2 separate regions of the Homo sapiens genome follow, and region 1 is linked to region 2. The links are contacts of gene promoters, found by promoter capture Hi-C in blood cells and fetal thymus (Javierre and others, 2016). All regions are on one chromosome and are shown on one strand. The core of a region is centred on a gene start or on the middle of the fragment in contact, and the rest is flanking DNA. Distances in the headings are between cores, read along the strand shown. Region 1 has its middle 21 kb from the start of LINC02106. Region 2 holds the start of LINC02118 (long intergenic non-protein coding RNA 2118).

Region 1 (6,781 bases), core at 2,009-4,508, 1.0 Mb after region 2:
GACTGTGAGTGGGAGGATGGGGGAGTGGGCCTTTTCTTCTTCTTTTTCTTTTCTTTTTTTTTGGAGGGAGGGAGAAATAGAGGAGACTTGAGCATGTTAAAATGTCGATACCAATGACTAGTGGAAAAACTTAAGGACACAGAGGAGAGTTTAAAATGAATGATCTAAAGTTCCTAATGAAAGGAAAGGAAATGGAAACCAAATCACAGGAGGGTAACTGCACTGGGAGGAGAGAGACATCCACGGTGACAGAAAGGACAAGTGAGTTTGCATCGGGAGCAAAGAGTTAACAAGTTGAGTGTAGGAGGGGCACAGAGTGGAGTAGGGAGCTTTGACATCTGGACAATATTTGCAGTAGCCATTCTGAAGAATAAGAGTGAACAACTATGCAGGAAGCATGGTGCTGGCACCTGTTCCTGGTGAGGCCTTAGGAAACTTACAATCATGGTGGAAGGCAAATGGGAACTACCATGATATATGGTGAGAAGGAGCAAGAGAGAGCTGGGGAGAGGTGCCATACTCTTTTAGACAACCAGACCCCGCATGAACTCAAAGAAGGAACTCACTTATCACCAAGGGGATGTCACTAAGCGATTTATGTGGGATGTGCCCCCATGAACCAATACTTCCCATTAGGCCCCAGCTCCAACAATGGGGATCACATTCCAACATGAGATCTGCAGAGGACACACATCCAATCTATATCAACAGACTACAGAAGGACAGAAGTGTTGTTAAAGTTCCAGTTGCCATTACTTAATACTTTAATGCTTTTTGTGTCTATTCAAACTTTATTTAATGTCGTATCTATCCTAGACATTCCCTTTTTCTGATAATAGCCCTCCTACCTTTGTCCCTGCAGCCTAGTGCAACGTGATTTCCTGTTCTTGCTCATCTATGAGTTTATTTGCAACTTCAGGTGGGTTTTTCAGTTCTAGCTAACCAATTCTCACATGAAATTCCCTTGTTTTAAATACAGATATTGGTTTCTATTTTCTATCTGGACCCTGACTCACACAGCACCAAGCCCTTTGGTCATGAGATCCACCAGTGGAGGTGGAAAATTGAAATAGCCCCTAAGGTATTGCCATGAAGGAGTGATGGTGAGGCAAAGGGACAAGGGAAGTGATTAATGGCAAGACACTGATTACAGCAACATATCCTGCATTTTCGGTCTAATTCAGTAATACAATACTAACGCTGTGTAGAATAAGAATAGAGTCATTGGCACCAGGAAGCCACACAAAATAAATTCTACTTCATGTCTCAGTGATTTAAAACTCAGATATAAGTGATTTTTTAAACATGTGTAGAAGTGATAGTTGCTTCAGACAGTAGATACAGGGCTTATAGAATTATTTTTACATTGACCAGACTCTGAAACTTATGACACAAAAGGGTTTTCTCAGAACTGCACACACCAATATTCTTGGATTCATGAATGATAAGAAAAAAGCTCATTTTTTTCTCTTATACTTTTAGTAAAGCTGCAAGATTAGGTGACTTATTTTTATCCAACTTAACAACCCTAAAGCAGAAATTAGACATACTACTTTTGTTTTTATAAAGTATTAGGAATGTCTGGGACAATGACAACTCTAAACCTCATCACCATTTCTTTTGGCTTCTATTTTTTGTGTGATTCTGTTTGCGTGTGTGTGTGTGTGTGTGTGTGCATTTGTGTGTGATATTGCAGCTTTTTGGGCCAGTATGTTGAGTAATGAGTGAGGTAAGGTAGTATGTGTGAGATGATGAGACCAACATAATCTAGTTGGTTGTAAAATATGTAATCAGTTCAAACTGATAATATATACATATGAATGCATGCACATGAATTATCACATACATTTTGAGGGAGAAAGAAAAACTCAAAAGGAGCCAAGAAAAATTCTTCACAAGATTGTTTCCAAGAATAACAGTAGAAAAATAACAATGTCACTAGGTATTTAATATACAGCTTTTAAACGTGTAATCTAATGAACAAAAATAGAGGTGATTATTCTACTTTAGCTGTGCTAAAGAATAAGTATTTGCATCAATGTTTTCTGTATTTTTCAGAGAATAATGTAGTTTTAAGGTGCCAAAGCTAATCCTTTCACAAAACTATCTTCCAGGGAAAGGGTCAAACAATTAAATAGAGTCCTAAGTCTAACTCTGTTAGTTGCCTTTAAAGGTACCAGGTACTATTTTTTTTTTAAGTTCAATTGGCCAAAATAATGTATTTAATATAAAGTATATCTCAATAAAATGTATGTTTTTTAAAAAAGCTTTCAACACAAAGGATAAATGCTTGACATGATAGATACACCATTTATACTGATGTGATTATTATCATTGAGTGACTGCATCAAAATACCTCATGGAACCCATAAATATACACACCTACCATGTACTCAAAAAATTAAAAATTAAAAAAAATTAAAAAGCTTTCAAGACAATGAACACCTTAAACAGACTCTGTGCCTTTCAAGCCAGAGACATTTTGAGAGCTGAAGAGTCACTTGCATTTTGTTTTGTATTTATTTTCTACCATAATCCATTTCTGTCCCTTTATCCTATGATATTTATTTTTCCCACAAAAGCACATAGGGAAGTGCACAATGGTAAAATGGGTTCTTTTATTGTTTAATCTCTTTACTTCCTAACTCAACAGATAATTCATCTGTAGTAAAAGTTTACCCTGAGGTTTAAATCCATGGAAGTTACTTACATTTAGAGACACTGCAGGTGCACAACAAAGGCAACTATATCCACTCAGTGTAAACTTAATTCCTAAATGCCCTTTTCTCAGAAAGCAAAACAAAACAATGGTTCATTTCTGGTTAATTGTCGTGACAGAAATTTAACAAAGTGATGGTCTGTCCATGATTGATTATTTAGAATTCTAAATTTAGAAGCTAAGAACTGCAATCAAGTGGAAATCATTAGTAATTGCATGTATATTTGCAATTCATAAATATTTTTTAGTTTCTGAAGTCTTTCACATTGCACTGGGGAACCAGGTGTAGGCTATGTTTTTAGTTGCTTGTCTACAGATAAAGTTCAGAAATGCTATTTAAATAAGAGTTATGGTTGTTCTAGCTTGACTGCCCCTCAGATCCAGCCAGGCTAGCTGTAGGTAGAGTTAGGCAACCCCAGCCCTCACACTGCTCCCCCATCTCCCTTTTTTATGTTTTTAGTGAACAAATTCCTATCATAAAGTATTTGGGACTCAAATAAATGTCCAATCACCTCCTTGGTTTGACTGAAGCCAGGAGTTCATGGGAAAGGACTAAGGTGTGTCTATCATTGAAATCTAGACCCACACAAACATGGCTGAATGGATTTCAGAGAGGAAAACTAAGCCTCTGAGGGGGAAACCCCTGTGAGTAGTGGCAGATGGGAGCTAGACTCAGCAGGTGGGCCTGGTTGCTTGTAGAAAGGCTTTCAGGCAGTCCCTGACCACCCCGGACCCCATCTTTTTGGAGAGCCTGACACTCTGAGGAAGTCAACGGCTATGCCAAAAAGAGCCAGAATTCATCCCTAGAGGTCAATGAAGCGCTACTCTTCATCACCCCCTTTCTCCTGCCTCTCCCATCCGAAACAGAAAAAGATTTGTGCTAGTGGCCAGAAACAGAAAGACAAGCTGCAGAGACCCAGCGGCACATTGTGAAAGCTGAAGGAAGGGAGAGAAAGTACAGAGGCCACGGCCTGAGATCACACCCTGCGTGTTCTGCGCACGATTCGGAGCAAGCAACAGACTGCACAGGGCCCCACAGGCAGTGGAAAAGGCAGGTGCCTGAAAGAAATTAACAATCGGTGCACATGGCCCAAGATCAGCAACACAAAGGTGGGCATGGAATAAAGGAATGTGGCATTTCAGAAAGGGGCCCTGACACTCTGAGAGGGAAAGCCACCGTGCTAATCACCCAACCACAGGATTACACATACGCAGCCCTCACAACTGAGGGCATCTCAGAAACATTTGGGGAGAGAACCGCCTAGAAGATGTTGGATTTTCTTCCACTGATTAGATAGCGTTTCTGAGCAGAGCGATCAGTGTATTACTGAAAATGCCATCTACATTGTTCCTGTTGGTTCCTGAAGCTTGAAGCATGACAAATATGTATCTAGATAAAAACGATTGCATGCTAGTGTATCAAACAAACGATCTCAAGAGTCAGTTCATTGTTCTTTCTTGCTGTGGCCATGAGCTAAAATTAAATACAAATGTGATACTAATTTTATCACGTATTAGTTTTCTGTTTCTGTGTAAGAAGATCCTACAAACTTAGCAGCTTACAGCAACATCCATTTATTAGCTCATAGTTTTGTAGGACAGAAGTGACTGAGTTCTCTGCTCAGGGTACTGCAAGGGCTGAAGATAAGGTCTTGGTCAGCCCGGCTGTTCTCATCTGATGGCTTCAGCAAAACGTACATATCCATGCTCATTTTTGTGGTTGACAGAATTAAGTTCGTTGCAATTGTAGGACTGAGATCCCTGTTTCTTTGATGGCTGCCAAGCAGGGGCTATTCTGGACACCTAGATGCAGTCCTTGCCATGTGGCCACCCCCATCGTCAAGCCAGAAATGCTTTGGTTTCATGCTTCAAATCTCTGACGTCTCTAATCTTTGAACTCTAAATCCAGATTTAAAGAGATCATGTGATTAGGTCAGGCCCACCTGGGTAATCCCCTTATCTTAAGGTAAACTTATTTGGGACCTAGATTATATCTGCAAATCCCCTCATAGTAGTACATAGATTGGTGTTGGAATAACTGAGAAAAGGTGTGTGTGTATGTGTATGCACCAGGGGCCAGGAATCTTGGGGACTGTAGTAGAGTTCTGCCTATGGCATATTGATTACCCTTTCACCTCATTTCACCACAAAATGCAACTCTTTTACCTAAAATCCCATATAATCAAGTTCATAACTAACTCATAGCTAGGACAGAAAAGTGGTCTTGAAAACTAAAATTAGACCAAAACTAATTTTTCCTATAGCTCACTCATTTACTTATTGAATTATATTTATATAAATCACATCTACTGTAATTATATCTAATGAGAAAAGAATACCGGTGTTATATGCCTCAAAATATCTTTTCCACATTTGTTTTGTCCTAGAATTGAAAGAAATATCAATGATTCAGATTTCTTCAAATGAACATAGTATCAGATTTTACTCTTAATTACATGGATTGCTAGGAAAGAAAAAATTTGGAACAGAAAAGGTACCTGAGAAATCTAGTTCTAACAGATAATCTTATAATTCTTGGCCTTATAGATGGCCTTAGAGCTGCCCATTTATCTGAAAATTTTTATAAACCAAAGACTAAAACATGAACTTGCACACCTCTTAAGAAGACTGGAATTTAGTGAACAGCCTAAAGTGAAACTGTCACTCCTCCTCAGAAAACAGCCACCAGCAAATTCCTCACAGAGAATCTTGGGAGCACACCCCTTCTCTTTGAACAGCAATATGATTTCTGCTCAAATAGGCACACAAATATTTTTGGTGTCCCCAGAATCTACTTGGATGAATAAGGTTTATTTTTTTTTGTTTTACATTCCCCCAAAGCCAAATGTGGCCACTGTTGTTCTTCCACTTATCAAATCTTTCATCAAATTTCCATTTCAGTAGTGGAAGAGCAGAAAGAAGAAAGTGTGTAAAATTGGACACATTTCTATGATCAGAATATAAAGAAAACTAAGCACTACAGGACTCTATTGTCCAAGCTGAAACTTACATGGCATCCAATTCCTTTGTGGGAGGCCCTGTTGGCTCAGAGATATTATTTCCTTCAGTGGTATTCTTATCAAGATACTTTGCATTTATGTGACACTTCTATTTTCAAAGGGACTTACAAAAATGTATTCGCATACTCTATAAAAATCTGAGCTATTATTATTTCACTATGTAGATGAGAAAAATTATCAAAAGTAAGAAATTCACCTCAGGCCATGAAATGAATAAAATATGACTGCTCATACTTCCAACTTTCTGCCCATGCTTAAACTTTTCTACCAAGCTTTTTTTACTTTATCTTGCAATGTGTCATCCAAAATCCTTCAGAAAATGCTTGCTCTAATGACCTAAAAGAGAAAAAGAAAAGAGGAAGGAAGGGAGTGAGGAAGAAAAGGAAAGAGGGAGAGGTAAAGAAAGAAGGACTACTAAGCCTTATTAGAATTCCATTTTTCCCTTCAACACTTCTCTTGTACTTATTTAGATACACCATTTAAATAATTGCCATTCATAAAATTCCGGGTCTCACTTCCTGAAAGGGTATGCCTGTCATCAGCTAGCAAGAGAAAAGAGTAAATAGTCTCAATTTGTATGAAGAATATGTAATTCCTTTTTTGTTCCAGGGGCATCCACAAGTAGAAATATAGATAAATATAGAATTTATTCTATACAGACACACTAAATTCAGAGGCACTCAGGACCTTTGCAGGCCCCAAGAACTCTTACTTTGCAGACACATCCTACATTAAGTATAATTTTTATATAATCAGAAGAGCTTATTTAAGCCGAAGTTAGTTAGTGATATTCTGTAAACTTATATTAACTACTAATGTCTATTTTGTAATTTCTTTTTATTTGTTCAAGTTTAGCATGATGTAAAATTTTTATTTTCTAACTGCATTTCATTTGTTCATAATTTTTGGAATCTTTGTTTGTTTTAAATGTTTAAGTATTTTTGTAGGCTTTTGAAAAGTATATAGGCCCTGACTGATAGCAGTCTCATTACTAGAAGCATGACAACAATGCACAAAGCAGAAAAACCAAGTTATACACTAT
Region 2 (6,771 bases), core at 3,195-5,694:
TCTTGTGAAATTCCTCCAGCATAATTTTTTGGAAGTGTTCCCACTCCTTACAAATGTTCCTCAGATTTTTATGGATAGGATGTTCTACAGAGATGATGCATGACCTTCTCTCCAATATAAAAGCAAAGAAACTACTGCTTTCCTTGGCATTCAAGTAGTCTTTTCCATTTGTAAGTACATTTTGAAAAAATACATTTTACATGCTCTAGTAATTTTATTCCACTTTTATATGTGGATTGAAAAACAAATATTTAAAAAACATTAATGGCACTCAATTTTTTAAATACAAAATATCAGAAATATCAGATTTTCACTGATTCTGTAATTTACCAGGTTATAGTAAGACCACTGGGAACATTTATATTTATAAAGGGTTTAAATTATTTTTCCACTAAATTTGCTTATTACTGGGTTAGCATGTTTAAAATTGATTTTACTGAAAGAAGAAATGAATAGATTGATTTTTCAAGTGGAATAGTATGAGGAAGTATATAGTAGTAGTGATTTTGAGCATTCCCATAAAGGTGACAGGAGATTGATAATATACCAGAATTTGTCTACAGAACTCTTAAAATATAATGGTTCTCTTCCTGTTTTAATGTGAAAATTTTTCTAACCTCAAAGTTCGTAAAAGAACCAACGAGCCCTTCACACCATTTTTTCATGTTTCTCATGCATGTAACAAAGGGCTCAGACTAAACTGGCACTTAATAAATTATAGCTATCTAATTATTATTAATATCACAATGATTGTTATGATGTATTATTAGTTTCTTTGGGGAAAAAGAAGCATTATAATAATTATCATTGAAACTATATTTTCAACTGGATAAAATAGTTTTACATCTAAGAAGAATAGTTGTGACTCTTACCTCTTAGAAATAGCATCAACATCATTGTGGGTCTGGATGAAGGTTGGAAAGAGAAGAATGTAACTGTTCTTTTCCTAGGACCTATCAATTATTATGTCAATTGACATGATTCGAGCAGAGTTCATTTTTTTCACTCTAAAGCACAAAACAATACTAGGAATGGTAAAGGATGTCATAATTTTTAAACTAAGAACCTATAATACACTCTAAATGCAACAAAGAGGTCCCTAAACTCACTTCTACCTTAAGCCACTTTTTCTGAGCAACAAAATGTCTTGGCAATCAAATAATTCATTGAAACAGTAACAGCAGTCTAGTCAGATGAGGTTTCTTTGTTTAACCCAATTTTGCAGGATGAAACTGTTTAGACGTGGACTTAGTGACTTCATTTGAACCTTTGTAGGCACATGCCTTGTTGAATTGGATGGTAAGAGGAGATTCATATGCACCAAAGCCCATATTCACACTCTTATTTCAATATTTTTTAACTGGAATTTAATTTTAAACTTGAATAGAAATCTGAGAAAATTAACATGTGGTCAAGGTTTTAGGTGAACATAAAATTACCTAACTTGATGAGGACAGTGTACAAATTCTTGATAATCAGCAAATGTTAAGCAGAAAATTTGAGCACTGTTTTGGGTATTTTTTATCTCGTTCTTGCATTTCAACACCAAATTCCTTTAACATTTTTTTCACAAATCATGGAAGGAAAAGGAAATAATAATAATGATGGCAATGATCTATTTTGACCATCTTATTATTTTCACCTTATTCATCTGGGAGCTACAGTGCAGTCTTAACCATCCCATAAATACTGATCTAGCCAAAGGAAACAGACTGTATTTTCCCTCGACTCTTTGCACTGATATATTGAAATAGCAGGGAAGAAAAAAAAAGGCCCATAATGCTTCATTAGTTAATTGTGCAGAGCACAGCTCTTTAGGGGTAAACAAGTGAAGGACATTTGCTGAATGGCCCATCCTCGTCATGCATATTATGGCCTAATGATGCTAGTAATGGTAGGAGGCTCCTGGAGAGTCATCTGTCAAATTAGCACATTGAATTATTTATTGCCTCAGAGTAAAATTGTTGAAAGGTAGCAGCTGAGACATGGTTTTTATAAATCTAAAATTCAGAAAAAAATACTAAAAAACTCATACAGCTGCTTTGAGGGTATATTCGTTTTTTAACACTTGCATTTATGAACACAATAGTCTTTACTGAGTAAATAGACTGAGTTTGTTTCTACCTTTAAGTCTGATTTGTTGTGTGTTTGTGTGTGTGTATGAAGTCCTGAGTATTTTATGTCATTAGTGATAGTGTAATAACCTAAAATTCAGGTTAATTGTTAAGTCTTCATAACTCATTTCATCTATATCACCAATGATAACCATAAGACAAAATGCCAATTTTTACTAGGCTGTGCGCCCAGAAACTAACATGGAGAGTATTGTTCTTGACTTCCATGTCTCAATTGTTCATATTTTTGTTCTACCACAGTGTTGTCTAAGACAGAAAATCTGCCTTCCTAAGACTTAGGGGAAAAGGCAAACCTATGCTAAACTCTTAAAAAAAAAAAAACAGTAAATATAAGAAACATAAACTAAGAGGACTCTAAACATTACAAAGCCTAATACAGTCAAGGTCTTTCAAAACATATTAATTATTTGTTCAGTATTTACTTAGTGGATACCGACAGAAAGTGTTTTTTCTATTCATACATATTATGTACAGAAATAAATTCACTTACTAATTTCTTCCACTGGCCAATGAAGAGTCACTGTTCTGAAAGAAATTAAAAAAAAAAAAAAAAACAATTAACCAATTCTATGTGGTCCCTATTACCTCTTTATTTCTTTTCTTTTTTCTTTTTTTTTAAATTCCTGCTCTAAACAGATAACTAACTTGGGAAGACTTAACATTTTGATTATAAAATAGATCACTAATTTCAAATAAGCAGGGTTACACTATGTATTATTTGGCCTCAAAGTAGCAATGTAATGAATTTCTTAATAACATTAAATTTAAATCACTATGAGTAATTGAGAACATATATGTGTGTGTATATGTATCCATTTGGTCAGAAACAACTCCAGTTAATTCTAGTAATGTTCTGAGTGGTAGAAGAAACTGGCATCTGGCAACTTCTGGGTGGCTGGCCTGCTACTGGGAAATGATCATAGAGAAAATAGCATCAAATCAGGGTCTTGAAATATGAATGGGCTTTCAATACCCAGGGAGAAAGACAAAACCAGTTATCTTGGAGAAAAAACAGGTTGGAACAGGATATTGGGAAGATATAAAGAAAATTAATCTAAAAACCAAGTTGTATAAGATCATGGAAGGTCTTGACATGTTAAGAAGCATATAATTTAAGGGAAAAAATTCAAACAGATATAGAGAGATAGATTCAGCAGAAGAATCTTTAGAAAAAGTTTAAATAATGTTGGATAAATTCTAAAATAATATATATATTCTAGTTTTCATCATTATCACTACCATAAATATGGTATGTGGTTTTCCACATGGGAAAGGTGAAGAGAGAGAAAGAGGAAAAGTAGAAGTACTAAATTAAGTGGCCACTGTCCTGGGAGAATTGTGATGCTAATTATCAAGTAAAAGAATCAGGGAGAGAGGGTCAAATTTAATAATGAAGACAACAAAATTTCATTATTGACATTTGGAGTTGAAGATTTTGGTGAGGCATTTAAACCAAAACGTCCAGAAAGTTGTTGAAAAGTGAAAGTGTAGCTCAAAGAGAAGTGAGTTAAAAATTTACAGCTGATAAATGGAAATTTCTTTCACGTGGATAGAAAGTCATGCGAATAGCTAAATTGTTTATTTGGTGTGGTTTGGCCAATGCAAATGTTGTCTGCCTGCATATTTTACTTTCTTTTGATAATATGGGCATCGTGTTGAACAATTACTGTTTTTATTACCCCATCAATTTTCTCATCAAGATCTGATTTTTCTTATCGCTATTGCTATTTTAATTCTTTTCATCTCAGCTCTTCTTTCTGAAGTTCTTTTGTATTGACCTTCCTTTTCATCTTTATTAATTTTGTATTTTTCTTTTAAACTCTTTACTGAAATGAAAAATGTTTACTCTATATTTCAAGAGCTTCAGTGTTTCATAGATACTCTCTAACTTAATAGAAGTAAAAAGTATGGGGAAATTGTTATTCTCAGCTTGTAGCAGTTGAAGCAGACCTGCTGATGACCCAGGTCTATGCAATTCCAAAGTTTTGATTTGGCTTTTTTGTTCTTTCTATATCACATTGCCTCCTCCATAGACACTATCTCAGCTTTTTACCTTCATTTCCAATAGCTATCCTTAATCCCTTACTCCTATCCCATTTTCTCTTATCAGTCACCTCTCTTATTATGGATCTACTCCTCCAGTTGGCACTCTTCCTCATGCTGCTGTTCTGTGTCTTTAAATCCTCTTCTCACCTTTCCGTATGCTCATCTGCTCAAACCATTAAGTTTTATCAACCCAATAACATTTATAACAACTTTACCTTTAAAATTGATGATGGAGTTGTAAGTGGTCTCAAATTCACCCTTCATTCAATACTCAAAAGATGGCATTGAAATCCCTTGCTATGTTACAAAAGTCCACACTGTGACAACAGAATGGAAAAGTATAATTTTGGCTGTATGCCATTTGCCTAGACGAATCACCAACAGTTTTGCTGCTTATATGAATACATTTTAAATTGTAGTATTATTTTTCTTGTTCACAAACTTGTAATATGTGGTCAAAAACATATTTCAAAGGTGAACACTTTTTAGACAGTAAAACTGCTCCAAGCATTCAAATTTTTTAAATATCATGCTACTTTTTTTTCTTTTAGAGTGGTTATCTATTAGGTAATAGCTGGGTTTGATTGCGGCAGGATATCAACTGATGCCTACCTGGCAATTAAGAAAACCAGAACTTCGTCTATCATACCCCCAAAGAACTGTAGGATTGATACCTGGAACAGGGAGGATTAGCAGCTGACGGTTGGAGCAGGTCATATTGAGCTTACTTCAGAGGAAGAATACACTAATTTCATATCTAGGAGTTTGCGTTGAAATAAATGTGGGAAGGTATGTTATTTTAAAGGAGCCATATTTACATCGACCATAAAACCTGAGGGAATGCTGCTGGTATTCCAGTAGGTGGCAATCTTCCCCCAGAATATGCAGCTAACCAAGGTCCTAGTGCAGGTTTGGGATGTGCAGCTTGTCTAAATTAACACCAAGGATTCTGTCTCTAAAAGTTCAAAACTTCAACAAAAGAACAAACCTCTTTGTATATTAGAATACTTTCCATGCTCTTAGTAAACCAAATCTTAGTGGATTTACCTTGCATCACCAAACTAAATCAGGCATTCTTTGGGCCTTATCTTTCCTTTTCATGAGTTATATATGTACAGCGATATAAGTATACCATCTCCACTATCCTTCTCAAATTATTCGTGTATATTAGAAACTGCTCTTTGCCAAACATCAATTTATAACACTATCAAGACAGTTAATGAGAACCTGTAAAATGTTATCACCCTTGCAATATGTTTAAGGCAGAAAATTTAAATGATTCTGTGGACTACATGTGACTCTCCGCTATATCTATCCCATCAATTAAGGAATTGTAAGTTGAAGGTTTTGTAAAGGCTTTTGCAAAATAACAAGTGTTTCTCAGTGCAAAGTTTGAAAAATAGATTTTATGGGGAAATGCAAAGCAATCAGAATGCCTTATCTGTGGAGAGAAAGTTTATAGGAATATTTGCTATGCTGTGATACTAGATTTTTGTTGTAAAATCTTCTAAGTGATGTGTAATATAATGGTTACTGCTGTCATTCTGGGATTTTAATGTCATTCTTCCAAACAACCACAGCATAGGCTAGGTGCAGTCTTTGGTCTTCTCATGTTTTTTTGTTTGTTTTGTTTTTAAATAAATCTATTATTTTATTTTAAGTAATTATTTTCTAATTTGGCATATAGTCTCATAAATATGGACTAATATGGTAGCATTACTACTGTTAGGTAATATTAGGTTCTTCTTAACTTCTGAGTAAAAGAGAAATGTGTGTTTCCCTGTTCCCTTGATGTCATATGTGTGTGTGACTTACTTTAGCAAAGAAACAAGTGTGAGAGTGATCTATGTCACTTCCAAGCAGAAACATGGAATTGTCAAAATGATAGTTTCCAAACTGTGGCTTCTTCATCAGCCTCAATCATTTGGTGAAGTCAAAGTGGAAGAAAATCCCTAGTTTACCAGAACAGATATGTAGCATGGTCCAAAAATAGATCTTTATTGTTTTAGGCCACTGAGATTTTGGACTTGTTTGATAGCTTAATGTAACTTAATCAATCCTAACACTATAAAAAGGAATTAAACTTAGTACTATAAGATAGATGATAAGTACTATTAAGTCATATATTCTGCTCAACTCTCCTCTGTTAGGACAGTAAATAAATGTAATGCATGTATAGACAAAATATACTATGGAAGTATATACCTGGGCACTAAAATTATCTCAAACTAATAAAATGCTTTCCTAATATGGAGCCAGCTTCTACATTCTCCTCCTCTGGGTGAAAGCTGGACTCCTCTATAATTGAGAATCTTCTAGTAAATCATTTTCTAGATCAATATTAGAAAATCAAAGGTTTAACTGAAAGTGTAGACAAGTTAAACTTCAGGACTTTCTTAGGTAAAAAATGATTATAATTGGTATGTAGCTAATACATATGCTTTTCAGATCCCTACCAAGCTGTATCTCAACTGCAAGACTTTTCAGATACTTCAACATTCAACATTCATTGTGAATTTCCAAGAATGAAAGATAACATTACTGGCAAAGTCAGTTTATTATTGACTAATAATAAATTCCAGGAAATGTA

What was found. The method cuts DNA at HindIII sites, captures the fragments that hold promoters and counts their contacts. A CHiCAGO score of 5 or more calls a contact.
Region 1: a contact is called between a fragment that was not itself captured here and the fragment with the promoter of LINC02118 in region 2, in 4 of 17 cell types (M2 macrophages, erythroblasts, M0 macrophages and 1 more). The highest score is 6.7, in M2 macrophages.

What each region holds. Positions count from the first base shown.
Region 1 is chr5:50,987,611-50,994,391 of GRCh38, reverse strand. No RefSeq gene overlaps it. Among named protein-coding and RNA genes, the nearest start is that of LINC02106, 21 kb to the right of the region's middle. The HindIII fragment of the contact is 1,660 bases long and covers 2,429-4,088 here.
Region 2 is chr5:52,005,704-52,012,474 of GRCh38, reverse strand. It overlaps LINC02118 (long intergenic non-protein coding RNA 2118), which reads right to left and starts at 4,444. Exons shown (of 4, transcript NR_147166.1): 1 at 4,397-4,444; 2 at 2,626-2,660; 3 at 873-904. The HindIII fragment of the contact is 14,911 bases long and covers 1-6,771 here.